4 separate regions of the Homo sapiens genome follow, and regions 2, 3 and 4 are each linked to region 1. The links are contacts of gene promoters, found by promoter capture Hi-C in blood cells and fetal thymus (Javierre and others, 2016). All regions are on one chromosome and are shown on one strand. Each heading gives the region's core, a stretch centred on a gene start or on the middle of the fragment in contact. The rest is flanking DNA. Distances are from core to core; before and after follow the strand shown. Region 1 holds the start of SSR3 (signal sequence receptor subunit 3). Region 2 overlaps KCNAB1 (potassium voltage-gated channel subfamily A regulatory beta subunit 1). Region 3 overlaps LEKR1 (leucine, glutamate and lysine rich 1). Region 4 overlaps LEKR1 (leucine, glutamate and lysine rich 1).

Evidence for each region. The method cuts DNA at HindIII sites, captures the fragments that hold promoters and counts their contacts. A CHiCAGO score of 5 or more calls a contact.
Region 2: a fragment that was not itself captured here is called in contact with the fragment with the promoter of SSR3 in region 1 in 2 of 17 cell types (total CD8 T cells and total B cells); the score reaches 5.4 in total CD8 T cells.
Region 3: a fragment that was not itself captured here is called in contact with the fragment with the promoter of SSR3 in region 1 in 1 of 17 cell types (non-activated CD4 T cells); the score reaches 5.7 in non-activated CD4 T cells.
Region 4: a fragment that was not itself captured here is called in contact with the fragment with the promoter of SSR3 in region 1 in 1 of 17 cell types (total CD8 T cells); the score reaches 5.2 in total CD8 T cells.

What each region holds. Positions count from the first base shown.
Region 1 is chr3:156,553,423-156,557,121 of GRCh38, reverse strand. It overlaps SSR3 (signal sequence receptor subunit 3), which reads left to right and starts at 2,005. Exons shown (of 5, transcript NM_007107.5): 1 at 2,005-2,165; 2 at 3,341-3,467. The coding sequence starts at 2,033. RefSeq lists an enhancer at 2,067-2,146. The HindIII fragment of the contact is 5,682 bases long and covers 1-3,163 here.
Region 2 is chr3:156,165,672-156,169,370 of GRCh38, reverse strand. All of the region lies in intron 1 of KCNAB1 (potassium voltage-gated channel subfamily A regulatory beta subunit 1), which reads right to left. Among named protein-coding and RNA genes, the nearest start is that of KCNAB1, 47 kb to the right of the region's middle. The HindIII fragment of the contact is 274 bases long and covers 1,872-2,145 here.
Region 3 is chr3:156,858,244-156,861,942 of GRCh38, reverse strand. The region is part of intron 3 of LEKR1 (leucine, glutamate and lysine rich 1); the gene reads right to left. Among named protein-coding and RNA genes, the nearest start is that of LEKR1, 34 kb to the right of the region's middle. The HindIII fragment of the contact is 3,639 bases long and covers 132-3,699 here.
Region 4 is chr3:156,836,975-156,840,673 of GRCh38, reverse strand. The region is part of intron 2 of LEKR1 (leucine, glutamate and lysine rich 1); the gene reads right to left. Among named protein-coding and RNA genes, the nearest start is that of LEKR1, 12 kb to the right of the region's middle. The HindIII fragment of the contact is 4,289 bases long and covers 1-3,699 here.

The DNA.
Region 1 (3,699 bases), core at 756-3,255:
AAAATATTTTTCTCAGGCATAATTTTTTTAAATCTCATCCTTATCATTTCTTCTTTTCTTCTTTTAAAAGAAAGATGATTGTTGTCTCTTTGGATCTTTTAGTTTTCTGATTTTTTTTTTTTTTTTTTTTTGATGGAGTCTTGCTCTGTTGCCAGGCTGGAGTTGGAGTGTAGTGGCGCGATCTTGACTCACTGCAACCTCTGCCTCCCGGGTTTAAGTGATTCTCCTGCCTCAGCCTCCTGAGTAGCTGGGGACTACAGGCGTGCGCCACCATGCCTGGCTAATTTTTGTATTTTTAGTAAAAGCGAGGTTTCACCATGTTGGCCAGGATGGTCTCGGTCTCTTGACCTTGTGATCCACCCACCTTGGTCTCCCAAAGTGCTGGGATTACAGGCATAAGCCACCGCACCCAGCCTCTGATTTTTATCTTTTATCTTCTTTTTATATCCTTAGTTTGTTTATAAATAGGCAGAAGAAAATCTAGTTATAGAGACAGATCCAAAAAGTTTTATTTATGAATTGGTCATAGATGGAGAAGGAAAAAAATAATTAGTGTTGAAACCCACTATTTTAACCAGAACAACAAATGAGTTTAAAAGAATGCAACTTAGTGAGATAGGAAAAACTGGGGGAGGAGTATGTGTAAGAGAAAATAATAATTTCTTCTTCTATCACTACCATGTAATAAAATAAAGAGCATTTTTAACATCAAAAAAGACATAAACCCAGATATTTTTAAATGAATACTTTTGATTTTCTGAAAAATTCACTAGATGGTCTTTTTTTCTTTTTCATTTTGTGGTGAATTAATGAAAACTTCTGGCATTAAGGAACACTTGCGGTAGATAATGGAAGGATTTATATTTCAGGAAAACTCACTCTGGTACCTGTATAGAGAATAGACTGGAAAAGATTGAAGACAAAAGCCCAATTAGGACTAGTAATAGGAAGCTGTGGAGGTAGATTACAATTTGGATACTGTGAGGAAGAAAGATATCTACCAAACGGTTAATAAGGAGGCTGGAGGTTGAGGAAATTGTGCCTAATGCACTAGAGTGTTCTCAGTAATCAAAAGTAGCATTTGCTGGGAGTGATGTGGTTGAATTTTTTTTTGAAGAAAAAATGATAATGTGTTGAGTTAAAAATGGAATCTAGCTGTTTTAATAGACATACTTAATCCTTCTGAGCTTCAGAGAGGGAGTCTTGCCTAGCCAACCTGTTCTTAGTATTATGTTTTATTTAGCATGGCTTTGGAAGCCACAAAACTCTATAGGTCTAGTTGAAATAAAATAAAATAGTAGTAACTTGTATCAGACATATATTAAATATTGCCTTCATCAATGAGATCATGAGTTTCTTAAAAGCAAGAGTCCCATTTTCTTCTTCCTACAGAGGTGGCCTATTGTTTAGTGAAAAGAGCCCACGCCTTGGAGACCCACACCGCAGGTCTACGACCCTCAGGCTCTTCAGCTGCAATGGCGGTAATGATGCGCACGTCATAAGATTCTTCAAGGTATTTAATGAAATAAAGGATGTGTAAAGGAGAAGGGATTTTACATGAGTTAGCTATACCTTTCTCTTCTTTCTTCTTCAACGTACTCAGTCCTGGGTACGCACAGAGGGCACTAATGGCGTGGGGCCAGAAGAGCTTTTAATTTTGGAATTCTGAAGAACTGAGAACTCGTGAGTCTGTCAGCAGCTCTGAAGTGGAATATCAATAAAGTTTTGTTAATTTTTTTTAAAGCACCGACTAAACTACAAATCCCTTCTCTCTCCTCCAGGTGGGTGGGTCACGTGGCTTGTCAGGAATCCGGAAGTCTGGCCCGCTCGCCCAATCACGCCCGGAAGCCTATCTAGTGGCGCCAAGCTGGCCAATCCTGGGGACGCTTGCTCTTCGCCAAACCGGGTCCCGCCTCCGCGCGCCGCGCTGACGGGTCGTTAGCGGATACGGCGGCCGCAGGGGCGGAGTCAAGGGCCTTTGCCCGCCTTGGCGGCCGGCTCTACGTTCCCTGTTCTCGCCTGCAGCTCCGCCATGGCTCCTAAAGGCAGCTCCAAACAGCAGTCTGAGGAGGACCTGCTCCTGCAGGATTTCAGCCGCAATCTCTCGGCCAAGTCCTCCGCGCTCTTCTTCGGAAACGCGTTCATCGTGTCTGCCATCCCCATCTGTGAGTGCTGGGAGCGAGGCGGGTTAGGCAGGCCGCCGGCTAGTCGGGCTGGGCGGGGACGTGGCAGGACCCGGCGAGCAGGGAAGGCGTGGGTGCCGGCCGGGGGTCGGCAATCTCTCCAGCTCCCCTGAGCTCGGGGAGGCACGGAGCCTCTTCTTTGGGCACAGTGTTGTCGCTTGGGATTGTCCTGTGCAGCACTCGGGGAGGTCACTTGTTAAAAGTACGCACGTTCCCGAGCTCCACCCCAGGAGAAGGTGGTTAACTAGTTCTGGGGTGGCGGCCCCGAATCTCTATTTAAACAGACAAACTCAAGCATACTGCCTCTGCCCTTTTCTATACAACTGTTGCTTGCCGTTACGAAATTTTAAACTTATTACTTATTTTGCATAAATTAGTTAGGTGAGAAACCCATGAAGTGACCCACTGAATTATAAGTGCATCTTTACGTGAGCTACTTCACACCATTGCATAATTTTCCTGGTTTTTGCAAAAAGAGAGAGGTTGAAGTGCCAGGGGTTAGGGATCTACCTTATTTATACTTTTTAATAATCCTACTGGACCAATTCTAGAATTCTCACTTGGTTGGGAAACTGCAGACTTGGACAAGGTCGTTTTTAGTAGAGCTCAAGTTTCCAGAACTCCTGTCTTTTGCTGCACTGTTGTTGGGCATTTAAAACTAAATGTATTTTTCTCTTTTGTCCTTATACAACCCAGCGTGCCATTAACGTGATGTGAAGCCATATGATGGCTCACTAATTGGACATAGCACTGCTTGGAGTTCTGATAACAGCCACGTCAGCAAGGAAACTATGGTTTGGGGCTGCACGTGGCATTTTGGAATGGCCTGTGTTTCGCATGCTAGTACCCTGATGAATGAAATTTGAAGTCTGACTTGTGATTACGTTGAGCCAGAGTTTGTTCTCATTTTAGAAGTTGAAATCTCATCTGGACTAGTAATAGGAAGGTGATGTTTTTCAAATGTTCTGAACTGGAAAGCTTGAGACTATACTGTTACTGGTTATCTCGCTTCTGAAGATCCTCAGATACTATTGGATTGCATAACTAATAACCTGGTATTTTACCAGGCTTAGCTATAATTAATTTCGCAGGCTTTTGTTGCGGGGTTGTAATGTTTTGCTTCTTTTTGTACCCTTCCCCCTTTTATTTTAATTCAGGGTTATACTGGCGAATATGGCATATGGATCTTATTCAGTCTGCTGTTTTGTATAGTGTGATGACCCTAGTAAGCACATATTTGGTAGCCTTTGCATACAAGAATGTGAAATTTGTTCTCAAGCACAAGTAAGTATGTTTTTCAAGTGAAAGTACGTACTACATGTTATATTTTTATATGTCTTCTTAAAGATCATTTGTGTGTGTTGGTTTTAATAAGCATTAATTTGAGATATATATATTAATAAACATTTTGGGGGAAAGGAACATTGATGCTAGGAAGAATTATTAACTAACTGAAGTAGAGACAATGATCATTCTGACACGGCTACAGAAGCAGATTTTGAGGGTGGAATTAGAA
Region 2 (3,699 bases), core at 759-3,258, 390 kb after region 1:
AAAATCACCACATAACATTGCATATGGTTTCCATTATATAGATTGAGCTCAAGCATTTCAACTCATTATTTTGCCATTTTCCTAAGGTCTTCAGCATAATAACCCCCGTAGATAAAGATATTGAGACTAAATGAGCTTTATTCGTCATTTGTTGCACTCAAGATTCTAACTGTGAGGGAGAGCTTATCAGGGAAATATTCCTTTAAAAATGTTGCTTTTGGGAACTTATTTATGTCTTAGGATACTATTAGATACAAGTGGATAATACGAAGATTTCTTAAGTGTAAAAAAATCAATTTAACAGTAAATTACAATAATAAATCATATAAAAATATTTCATATGATATAGCATCAGTGTTCATAGAAAATCATCCCTCGCCTTATTTCTACTGGAAAAGAAATTACAGCTGAAAGAACATCTTCATCAGAGTCATGGAGGCAAGAAGTGATTCTTTCAACAAGATTTTTACAGAAATGTGAAAGAAGTAACAGAAGTCCCTGGATGACTAAGAAACTGATCTAAGAACTTTTGTTTATCTGCCTTCCATTTTTCAGTACAAATTTCTTTGGAGCAAATGTCTACATTAGAGATCAAGTTTTTGGTAATTCTGCTGTCCTAAAAAGAAAACATCTCGCTGTTTTCTTGAGCTGATTTCTCAACAGCATCACTAGCTTCATGTGCACGTTGATGTTACAAAAAGCAAATATACTTCAAAAATTCCATTATTCAGTACATTTTGATGTATCCATGTTGTATTGCTTAACATATAATAAGCATCAAATTTATATTCACTTGTTGAATGAATACACAGATTTTTAATAGATATGGTAGGTACTGTGCAAGACTCTGTGAAAAATATTTAGATGAATAAAATAATAATCACCATGTATTAGAGACTCTAAGATATATTTTTTATATTTTCACATTTCTAAACTGGAATGCTTCCTACAGCCTTTTAAATTTTTTAAATTTTAAAACCGTATTCTTATTGTTGTCTCTTTAAATGATAATAGGCAGTGTGTTTCTTTCTTAACAGTACACAAATTACTGGTGTACCATACAATTGATAGTATCTTCGGTTTGATAGATACTTATATGCTGTATAGCTAATAGAGAACATGGTTTTTACACATTCAGGACTTACTTTTTTGGGGGGCGGTTGGGGGTGGGACAGAATCTCACTCTCTTACCCAGGCTGGAGTGCAGTGGCATGATCTCAGCTCACTGTAACCTCTGCATCCCGGGTCCATGCTATCCTCCCACCTCAGTCTCCTAAGTAGCTGGGACTACAGGTGTGCACCACCATAGATGGCTAATTTTGGTATTTTTTGAGGAGACAGAGTTCCACCATGTTGCCCAGGCTGGTCTCTAACTCCTGAGCTTAAGCAATCCATCCACCTCAGCCTCCCAAGGTGCTAGGATTATAGGCATGAGCCACCATGCCCAGCCAGGACTTCCAAACATATAAGAAAGTATAGAGAGCATTCTGTCCAACCCCTCTCATTTAATAGATATCAAAAATGAGATCCTAAGAGGCTGTGCCCCAAATAACTCAGCTGCTCCATGGAAATGCTAGAACTAAAGCACAGTTTTTCTGACTCTTGGCTGAATATCCCACACCATATCACCTTATACTACAAAAATCTTATAATTCAATCTCAATCTCCACTTATTTTTGTTGTTGTTGTTGTTGTTGTTAAAAAGTTTGTTGAAACTGGCTGTTTTGTTTTCAATAAACATCATATTTTATACATGTCAATGAGTTTTTCTTCAAAGTAAGCACCTTTAAAAATGATATTTTTATTCTATTGATGTTGTCATAGCACAAAACACCCTTGGGGTTTGTTTTAGGTCATCTTCAGAGAAAGCTTATTGGTTAAAAAAGAAACCCAATGTTCTTGCTTAAAACAGTAGCACTGTTGCTTCCCAGAGGTTATTTCAGAAATTTCCAGAAGTGATTTGATCGTAACAATAACTGTATTGCCACTGTCATGTAGTGGGTGTGGCTTGGGGACCAGCTCATGCCTCATAACTGTAGATGGAATCTCCTCCTTTTCCATTCCCTACTCCTTCAGCCCTTGCAAAAAGTCTCACACGCCACCGTCTGATAGACATGCCAGCCCACACATCCACACCCTCAAGCTTGGCCACCTGTGGTCTGGGGCATTGTCCACTCTTAGAGGAAGAGATCTAAAGAGGCTGTGTAAGTCATTCAGTGAGGGAATACCAGGATTCTGGGTATGTGGACATGGTGGTGCAGAAAGGGGATGCAGATAGCTGGGCACATCCCTGGGGTCCCATGGACTCTGTCTTGTTGGAGCCAGAGTAGGGTGCTGGACTTCTAGAGCAGCACTGGTCAGGAATGGAGACTTGTTGCCCTTCAGGGACAGTCTAGCACAACCAAGAGGTGCCCATGTCCAGGATGACTTCCAATGTCCTGCCACACTAAACCGCCATAAACATCAACCGGTTCCTACAAATCCTAAAAAGCCTTCGCAGAACGTTACATGAAAAGCTCAATCATCTAGGAGAATTTTATTAGAAGGGGAGATGCTTAAATGGAATACAATCCCTTATCATAAAATTGTTGACCAATTTATTCACTCCATACATTCTACCAATTCCATTAGACATTTAGCTGAAACAGTCTGTACAATAGTGCAATTACCACAAAAGCAAAGAGAATGTTTGCAAACAGCTAGCAAATGAAATCTGGAAATGCTTTAAAAGATGTAAACCCATAAAAGAAGCACTGGGATCTTGCTGATATTCATGAATAAGGACTGTTTTAAAGTACACCATATATTGCCTATCTGTGTGTGTGTGTGTGTGTGTGTGTATATATGTATTTTTTAAATTTGTCTAGCACAATGATAAAAATAACATGTTTACATTTGTTTTGGGATTGCGCATTCATTCTTAATTTGTTAGTATCTCTCTAGTGCTACTACACAGTTTCTTTATAGCTCCTTATATTACTGTTTGTTTTCAAATGCATCCTCTGCTCCCCTGTTCCTTTTCAAAGATAAGATTTCTAGACCCTTTTTATGTATTAAAAACTGAGTGTGTGCCTCCACAGACCTTGGAACTTTCAGAAAAGAGAGATGTGCTGCCTCATCTCTGCCTCATGCCCATGGCATGACACTGATAATTGTTTTCAACACTACACTTAACAGTAAAGCACAGCATATCATCTGAGACATTAGTCTTTCTCCTTACTTCTGCTGTGTATCGTGGCATATTACTTTCCCTTAAGTAAGGCCATTTCTCTCTTTCTCTTGTAATATACAAATGTTCGCTGAACATCTGAATATGGAAAAAATGAGGGGCCCAAGCTCCAGCCAGAAATCAGGTGATTCACACACCCCAGTTCCCAACATCGCAAAAGGCTTTCTTTTGCACATGAGCACAGCCTTAGAATCCCTTACACACCTTCCAGGAACTACTCTGTGATCCAACAAGAAGGCAGAGATGCCCTTGTGAGAACACAGTAAACAAGTCCCCAATTCAAGGAGATTCAAAATGGTGAGAATTAATAATTTACATTTGAAAAGTGAGAACTAATTATTTACATTGAAAAGAAAAACCAGGAGAGCTCAGAAGAACAAAAGGGAATAAAGCCGCAATACAGATATAATGTTAAAGATAAATACATATAAAAACACTAACTATAACAAAACATCATTTGCTTAGAAGAG
Region 3 (3,699 bases), core at 702-3,201, 300 kb before region 1:
AATAAAAGAAAATAGTATGTTCTATACCTAAGGACTTTGGTCTGGAGCACAATCTAGTGTTGGTGTGGGAGAAAAATGAAAAGATAATAAAAAGATTAGCTGATCTTAGATCTACATGTTATAAATAAGCTTGTTTAGGTTCCTCAAAGTTCAAGTAATGCATAGCACAAACATCAATGTAATAAATTCATACTTACACATCTAGACAAAAAAAGTGATATGAACTTCTAGATTTAAAATTATTTTTTAATGGCCCTGTGTCTACTGGAGCCATTTTTCAATGGCCTGAAAATGAATGTTTTTCCACAATGGTACTCAACGTTTTTTCCCTGCCTTTCCCATGTTCCTATGCCCAAGCAGACTTCCATCAGTAACAGTCCTCATTTTACTGTAGGAATTCTTACCACACCCCAAAATGGGCAAATCAGAATCTCAAGAGAGATGTGAGGGATTGAAAAGGCCCCAGAGATTGAAAATAGTTCCCTAGGAAGTAGGCCCCATCCCATAAGAACTACAGTTCTGCATCAGTTCTTTGTTCTATCAAATCTTGATTATTCAAAATTAAGTTGTCCCAATCATTTTTAGCATAAATGCCCTTTACACTACTTCCATAAACACCAAAAAGTGCTGCAAAAGTACAAAAAGCAGAAGCCTGGATGAGACATGTATAAAAGATAAGACCTTTTATAAAGGGAGTTGTTGATGTATTTATTTTCTCAAGATACTATTTTTCTTCCTCTCAGTGAATGAAATTAAGCATACACATTATACTCTGGAGAAAAATCTAATGGCCCAGTGAGGCAGGCCCTGATAGTGTCTGTTTCCTTTTCTTCCTTACAACAGTACCTGATATTGTTTCAGGAAGCAACAAGCCAACACCCTGCAGCCAATGCCTCAGACTCCTCTGCAGTCATGACCAATAGCACATAAGGTGAAACTTTCTGAAAAAGTTTTTGATCTCCTAATATAAGCATTTCCCCTGACTGCTTCCCCCTTCATATTCCTGCCTAGAAATTAAACATGATATCTGGTGATACAGAAGCCATGATGAAATCATAAGACCAGTATAAGGCTAAAAGCCTACTTACTGAGCAAGACAGAATGAGAGATAGAAAGGGATTGAGTTCCTGGTGACATCACTAAGCTGCCCATACCCTTTCTTCTTCCTTCAAGAAATAAACCTTTGTCCATTTAAGCCACTTACTATAGATTGTATTCCTAACTGATCCAGCCAGTCTAGGTTGGAGGTAGGTAGGTTTAGCAAGGAAGGAAAATGACTAACAAAAGCTGCCTTGTTTGCCCCATCACCCTCTACTCCAGCCAGGTACACTTATTTCCTCCAATTCTCTCCATTTGTAAATTCAGACACACTCTCTGCATTAATTTGGTCTCAAACTGTAGACTCAGTCTGGATCTCTGGACCTTTGGTACCTACCTTAGGTAGCCCTATCCTTGGGCTGACTGCTCTAAACTGACTTATCTGGCTCACCTAACATGAGATAATTGCCAACCGAACTCTTAAGTGCTGTCCCTCATAAACAAGCCTACATTACTGTGGATTAACTCTCCACATGACAGTCTCAATTTGGCATAAGCGGAGGAGAAACTGAAGAGGAAATGTTTAACAGCCACTTAGAGATGCATTTTATTGTGTAACTACTGACTTCTGTAATCTACTGATATTTGTGAGAATTTAACCAATTACCTTCTTTAGAAATATTCTAAGTTACTCAAAATAATATTTAATTTGACTAAAAAACCAACCCAAGATTTCCACCAAGATGGAGTAGTCCCATTGTTCCCAGATCCTCCTTACAACTGAAACACCCCGAACATAACATAAGCAGCATAGAAAGACTCTGAAAAGTGGAAAGAAGGCAGATGGCCTAGGGACCTTCGGACTTGATAAATACCAAGGCAATAAAATCCATGAGTTTTCTTATTGACTCTCATATATCCCAGACAAGGTGCTGTCGAAGTCTCCAACCCAGAACCACCAACAGCCATAGACAAAAAAGAGCTCCAAGAAAAATTTAATCCACCTAGCTGAGTAGGGGAAGGGTGACTGAATGACAGAAAGTATTCTTGGCAGTACTTGCCGTACTCCAGCCAAACACCAACAGTATAGATCAGTGGTTGCTAAGTGTTAACGGGGAAGGAGGATGCATAAGTAGAACACAGAGTATTTTTAGGGTAGTGAAACTGTTCTGTATGAATGAAACTATTCTGTATTAATGAAACTATTCTGTATTCTGCAATGGTGGATAATGTCTTTATACATTTGTCAAACCCCTTAGAATGTATAATACCAAGAGTAAAACGTAATGTAAACTATATATTTGGGATGATGATGATGTGTCAATGTAGCTTTATCAACTATAACAAATGTATCATTGTGGTGTGAAGAGGAGGCTGTGTGAGTGTGGGGACTGTGTTATATGAAAACTTTCTGATCCACTCAATTTTGCTGTGAACTTAAAACTGCTCTAAAAAATAAAGTTTATTAATTTGTTAAAAAGTCAGTATAAAACGTTGTGAAGTGTAAAGATACAAACTATAATTTTTTTAATCCAGTGTTAGAAAAATTTAAGGTCAAGAAGGATATTCTATATCAGCAAAACATATAAAATCTAAAAAGATGGTTTTATATACCCCCATGAACTTAATTTTGACATAGACAGAAACTGATAAATCCATATTCATTTTGAAGGACTTCAATATTCCCTTATCATTTTTCAAGTGAAACTGACAAAACTAAGTACAAATATATGTAATTTGAATACTGCAATTAACCAGTGTAATTTAATGGATCTATTACAAAGTTATATCCATTAAAAGGAGACTATGTACACTTTTGAGTAACTACAGAATATTTCCAAAACTTATTGTTTATTAAACTCTTAATACGGTCTCCCAAATAGGTTATATTCTCTTCAACCTGGAATAAAAATAGACATAGATAAAAGGATAGTCAAAAAACAACCTATCCATTTAGAAATTTAAAAACATTCCTCCAAGTATTTCTTGGATTAAAAAGCAAATAAAAACTAAACTTCATCTTATTTAGAAGTAAATGAAAATAAAATACTATTATCAAAAAGTTTGTTGTTGCCAAAGACTGTTGCCACAGGAAAACTTAATAGCTTTAAATTTATTTATTAGAAAAAGAGACTGAAAATAAATTAACCAAAGACTTCAACTCAAGTAAGTAGAAAGAAAACTAAACATTAAAGAAAGGATAGAAAACAGATTTTTTTTTTTTTTTTTTGAGACAGGGTCTCGCTCTGCCATCCAGGCTGGAATGTAGTGGCATGATTCTCGGCTCACTGCAGCCTCCACCTCCCAGGTTCAAGCGATTCTCCCACCTCAGCCTCCCAAGTGTCTGGGGTTACAGATGTCTTCCACCACACCCAGCTAATTTTTGTATTTTTAGTAGAGAACGGGGTTTCACCATGTTGGCCAGGCTGGTCTCAAACTCCTGACCTCAGGTGATCTGCCTGTCTCGGCCTCCCAAAGTGCTGGGATTACAAGCGTGAGCCACCGCGCCTGGCCTGATAAATATAAATTTTAAAAAGGAACATATTTGATTAATTTAAACAAAAATCTGGTTCTTTAAAAAGGCCAAAATAGACAAATTTGTTTATTTTCCTAGGAAAAAAAGCTCTCTCTCTCTCTGTCCTTCACTCTCTTTCTTGTCTC
Region 4 (3,699 bases), core at 316-2,815, 280 kb before region 1:
AAGCATCAAGTTAAATCGATGGCATGGTTAATGCTAACAGGCAGCCCAAAGGTACATGCACAATGGACAAAAGCATATCTGAGAGCTGACTGCAAATTTTAATCAAAATGTAACAGATTAGTTGTTAATTAAGAGTTAACTAGATTTACTGAAAAACCCGAAAGATTGATGATAAAGTTTGAGGTTATAACTCACAATTTAAGTCAATCTTTTTCAAAGAGATTTTTAAAAATATACTATTAACAATGTATGGATTGCAAGCTAAATATGGGGAAAATGCCTTGTCCTGGGTACAGATGTGAACTAACAGGGAAGAGAACAGCATAAAAACTAAAGAACTGCGTGTTAATTAGATTAAATGAGTTGATATATAGTTGACCTTTGAACAACATGGACATTAGGGGTGCGAACCTCCCCTCCACATAGTTGAAAATCCATGTACAACTTCTGACTCCCCAAAAACTTAACTACTAATAGCCTACTGTTGACAGGAAGCCTTGCTGATAATATAAACATTCAATTAATGCATATTTTATAAAGTAAGCTAGAGAAAAGAAAATGTTAAGAAAATCATCATAAGAAAGAGGAAATATATTTAATCTTCATTAAGTGGATCATCAAAAATGTCTTCATCCTCATGTTCACATTGAGCAGGCTGAGGAGGAAGAGGAAGAGGAGGGGTTGGTGTTGCTGTCTCAGGGATGACACAGGTGGAGAAAGTGGAAGGGGAGGCAAAAAAGACAGGCACGCTTGGAGTAACTTTGAGGAAATATGTCATAACTTCTGTCGAACTTTTTTGCTTTTTCATTTCTCTAAAAATGTTTCTATATAGTGCCAATCCTTCTTCCAACGTTTGCTTTAGTTTCAGCGCCCATATCATAGGAAGGTTCATGTTGTAAAAGAAGTGAGAAGCAGTCTCGAATAATTGAAACCCTTCTGCCATATTATCTAGCATCAATTTGTTTTCTAGCACTGCCTCTACTATGTCTTCTTTCTCATTGTCTGCACTGATTCAGAAAAAAAAATCATCTCCAAGTTGTCCTCTGCTAATTCCTCTTGTGTGATGTCTGTTAGCTCCTGAATTTCTCCAAGATTAGTATCTTGAAACCCTTCACCCTCTGACCTTTTTTGCCATATCCACAATCTCTTTTATAATTTCCTTTATTGGCTCCATTGTAAATCCTTTGAAGTCATGCACAACGTCTGGACAGTTTTCTCTAGAAGGAATTTCTTGTTCCAGGCCTGATGACTTTCACAGCTTTTTCTATAAGAATGATGGCATCTTCAATGGTGTAATCTTTCAAGGTTTTGGTAATGTTCTGTCAGGGTTCTCTTCCATAGCATTGACAGTCCTTTCCATAGACTACTGTTGAGGTACTTCCTGACTTCAGAGACAAAGCATTGATGGACTCAGTCTAGAAAAAGCAATCTCCTTGTCCAAGCCTTTGTGTTGTACAACCAAAAGACTAACACCTGATGTTTATCTTTTCCCATCAAGGCTAGAGATTAGCAGTTTTATAGATAAGGGCAGTCCTGATCATAAACCTGACTACATTTGCACAAAACAACAGATTTGGCCTATCCCTTCCTTCCTTAAATCCTGGTGCTCACGTCTCCTCCTTACTAATGCATTTTGTGTCCTTTTTTTTTCCAGAATAGGGCACTTTTGTTTGTGTTAAAAACCTGTTTAGGAGATTGATTTGAGTAATAACTCCATCTCCTCTGTGGCATGGCCATCCTCGTTTCCATTAAACTCTTTCTCTACTGCAATGGCTTGGTCTCAGTGGCTTGATTTCATCTGTGTGGGAGGAAGAACCCATCGGGCTATTATAAGTTTGGGGGTCTGTCTGGGATCTGCCTTTGTGGGTGCCTGCCTGCAGTTTGTCAGCCCCCCACCAGTATGTTGGAATTGGAGGTGAGCTCTGGCAGCTGCTTATTTCTCTGGAACTGAAGGCCATGTCTGGTGCTGTCCTTGCCCAGTGAGGCCCTGCTGACCCACAGTGCTTGGGCCTAATTGCAGTGGAGAAAGACATCCTTCCTAGAAAGACATCTTTAAACTGGTCTGCTGAGTATTCTAAGCACGGTCAGAACCTTCTTCCTTCTCCCAGTTGGTTTGGCTCCACTGGGGTTCTTGGTTCTGCTCCTTCAAGTGTCTTGGTTTGGCTCCTTTGGGGGTATTAGCTGGCTCTCCCAAAATAGTAGGAAGACTCTGGGTTTGGGGAGATGTCTCCCCAGTTAGAGAATAAGAGGTTAGTTCAGAAGAATTACTCCTGGAAATTTTTGGTTAGGAATCCTGGTTTGGAAGGCCTTTTTGTTTGTCTTTATCTCATTGTGCGTATTTGTATATATGGAGAGAATTCCCTGAAAGAATTGCTGATGAAAGCCCAGGAGACTGTACTAGTTTGTCTGGTTGGTCACATTCTGTGAGCCATGAACAAAGTTCAACAGGTCTAACTCAGGGTGACTATCCACTCTTCCATGTTGCTTAAAGATCACCTGTTGAAACTCCTGGTTGGAGAACACCCCACCCCACTTTGAGTGGATCAAAGACAACACGGGCCAACAGAGGCAAGTTTAAGCCTTGCCAGGTCAATACTTGGATGCTAAGCGGGGTGACTGGTGTCTGTGTTTTGTCATGTGTATTTTCCTCTGCCTGGAATAAAAAACGTCATTTTGGATCCCCCATGTAGCCTGGCTACATCTTGCAAAATGAGGTTTTTGACTATGATTCCATGAAACAGAAAGAGATGATTTTCTTTTGTAATGCAGCATGGCCCCCACAGCTATGGTACAGCAAGCAGCATCACCAAAGCTGCTGAGAGATAAGGAACCTGGAAAGCTAGCATGCCGGCAAAAGGGTAAGAATTTCCTACCAGCCAGGCTTCTGGCCCCTTTCTGCGCAAACTGATGGTAAAAATCACTGTCTCCTTTGCAAAGTCTGATTAATGGGAAAAAGGATTTGTGTGATTAGTCTGAGGCTGTAGCAAATCTAGTGCACTTTGTGCTATGAATATTCACATTGTTTCACTCCTTTCCTCTCAGTTTTTATCTTTATGTGTCTTCTGTCATGGAGAGGGGCACCGTAGGATAGAACAAGGGCCTAGGATCCCTATAAGCCCAATGCTCAAGCTGGCCCTGTGGGCTGGTCAGTTACAAACTTTGCTGCACGTCCCTGAAACAAAAACTGGACGAGATTTCCTTCTCATCTTGTTTTACGTCCTTGGGAGCTTGACTCTGTTGACCATGTGGAGGTACACTCTCAGTCTCCACCATCCAAAGGGCAGGAATTTTTCAGTTCATGTCAGTATGAGAGGACCGGGTGTCTGAGATGAGTCAGCACACTCTTCATCCCAAATGTGTCATGCCTTTGGGTGAGTCTTGTCTTAAAAGATCCCATTTCTACAGGGCTCTTGTCATCTTTTGTTATCTTAAGCCCATTACAGAGAGTGAATTCTTGGGGACGATGGAGATATCTCCTCTATCCCCTCTCTAAGAATACCTCTTGCTTATATGATAAAATCCTGGAACATTAACATCTGGGCTTGTAAAAGACTCAGATTAAGTCACTACTGAAACTGAGTATACCATTTTTTTTAAAAGGAATTTTAGAAATCTTTTATTCTCCATAATTAAAGTTTTTAAAAAGGATGAATAATGTCCTAACTAGCTTCAGAAAATTCTCTTGAGCAGTTACAATCC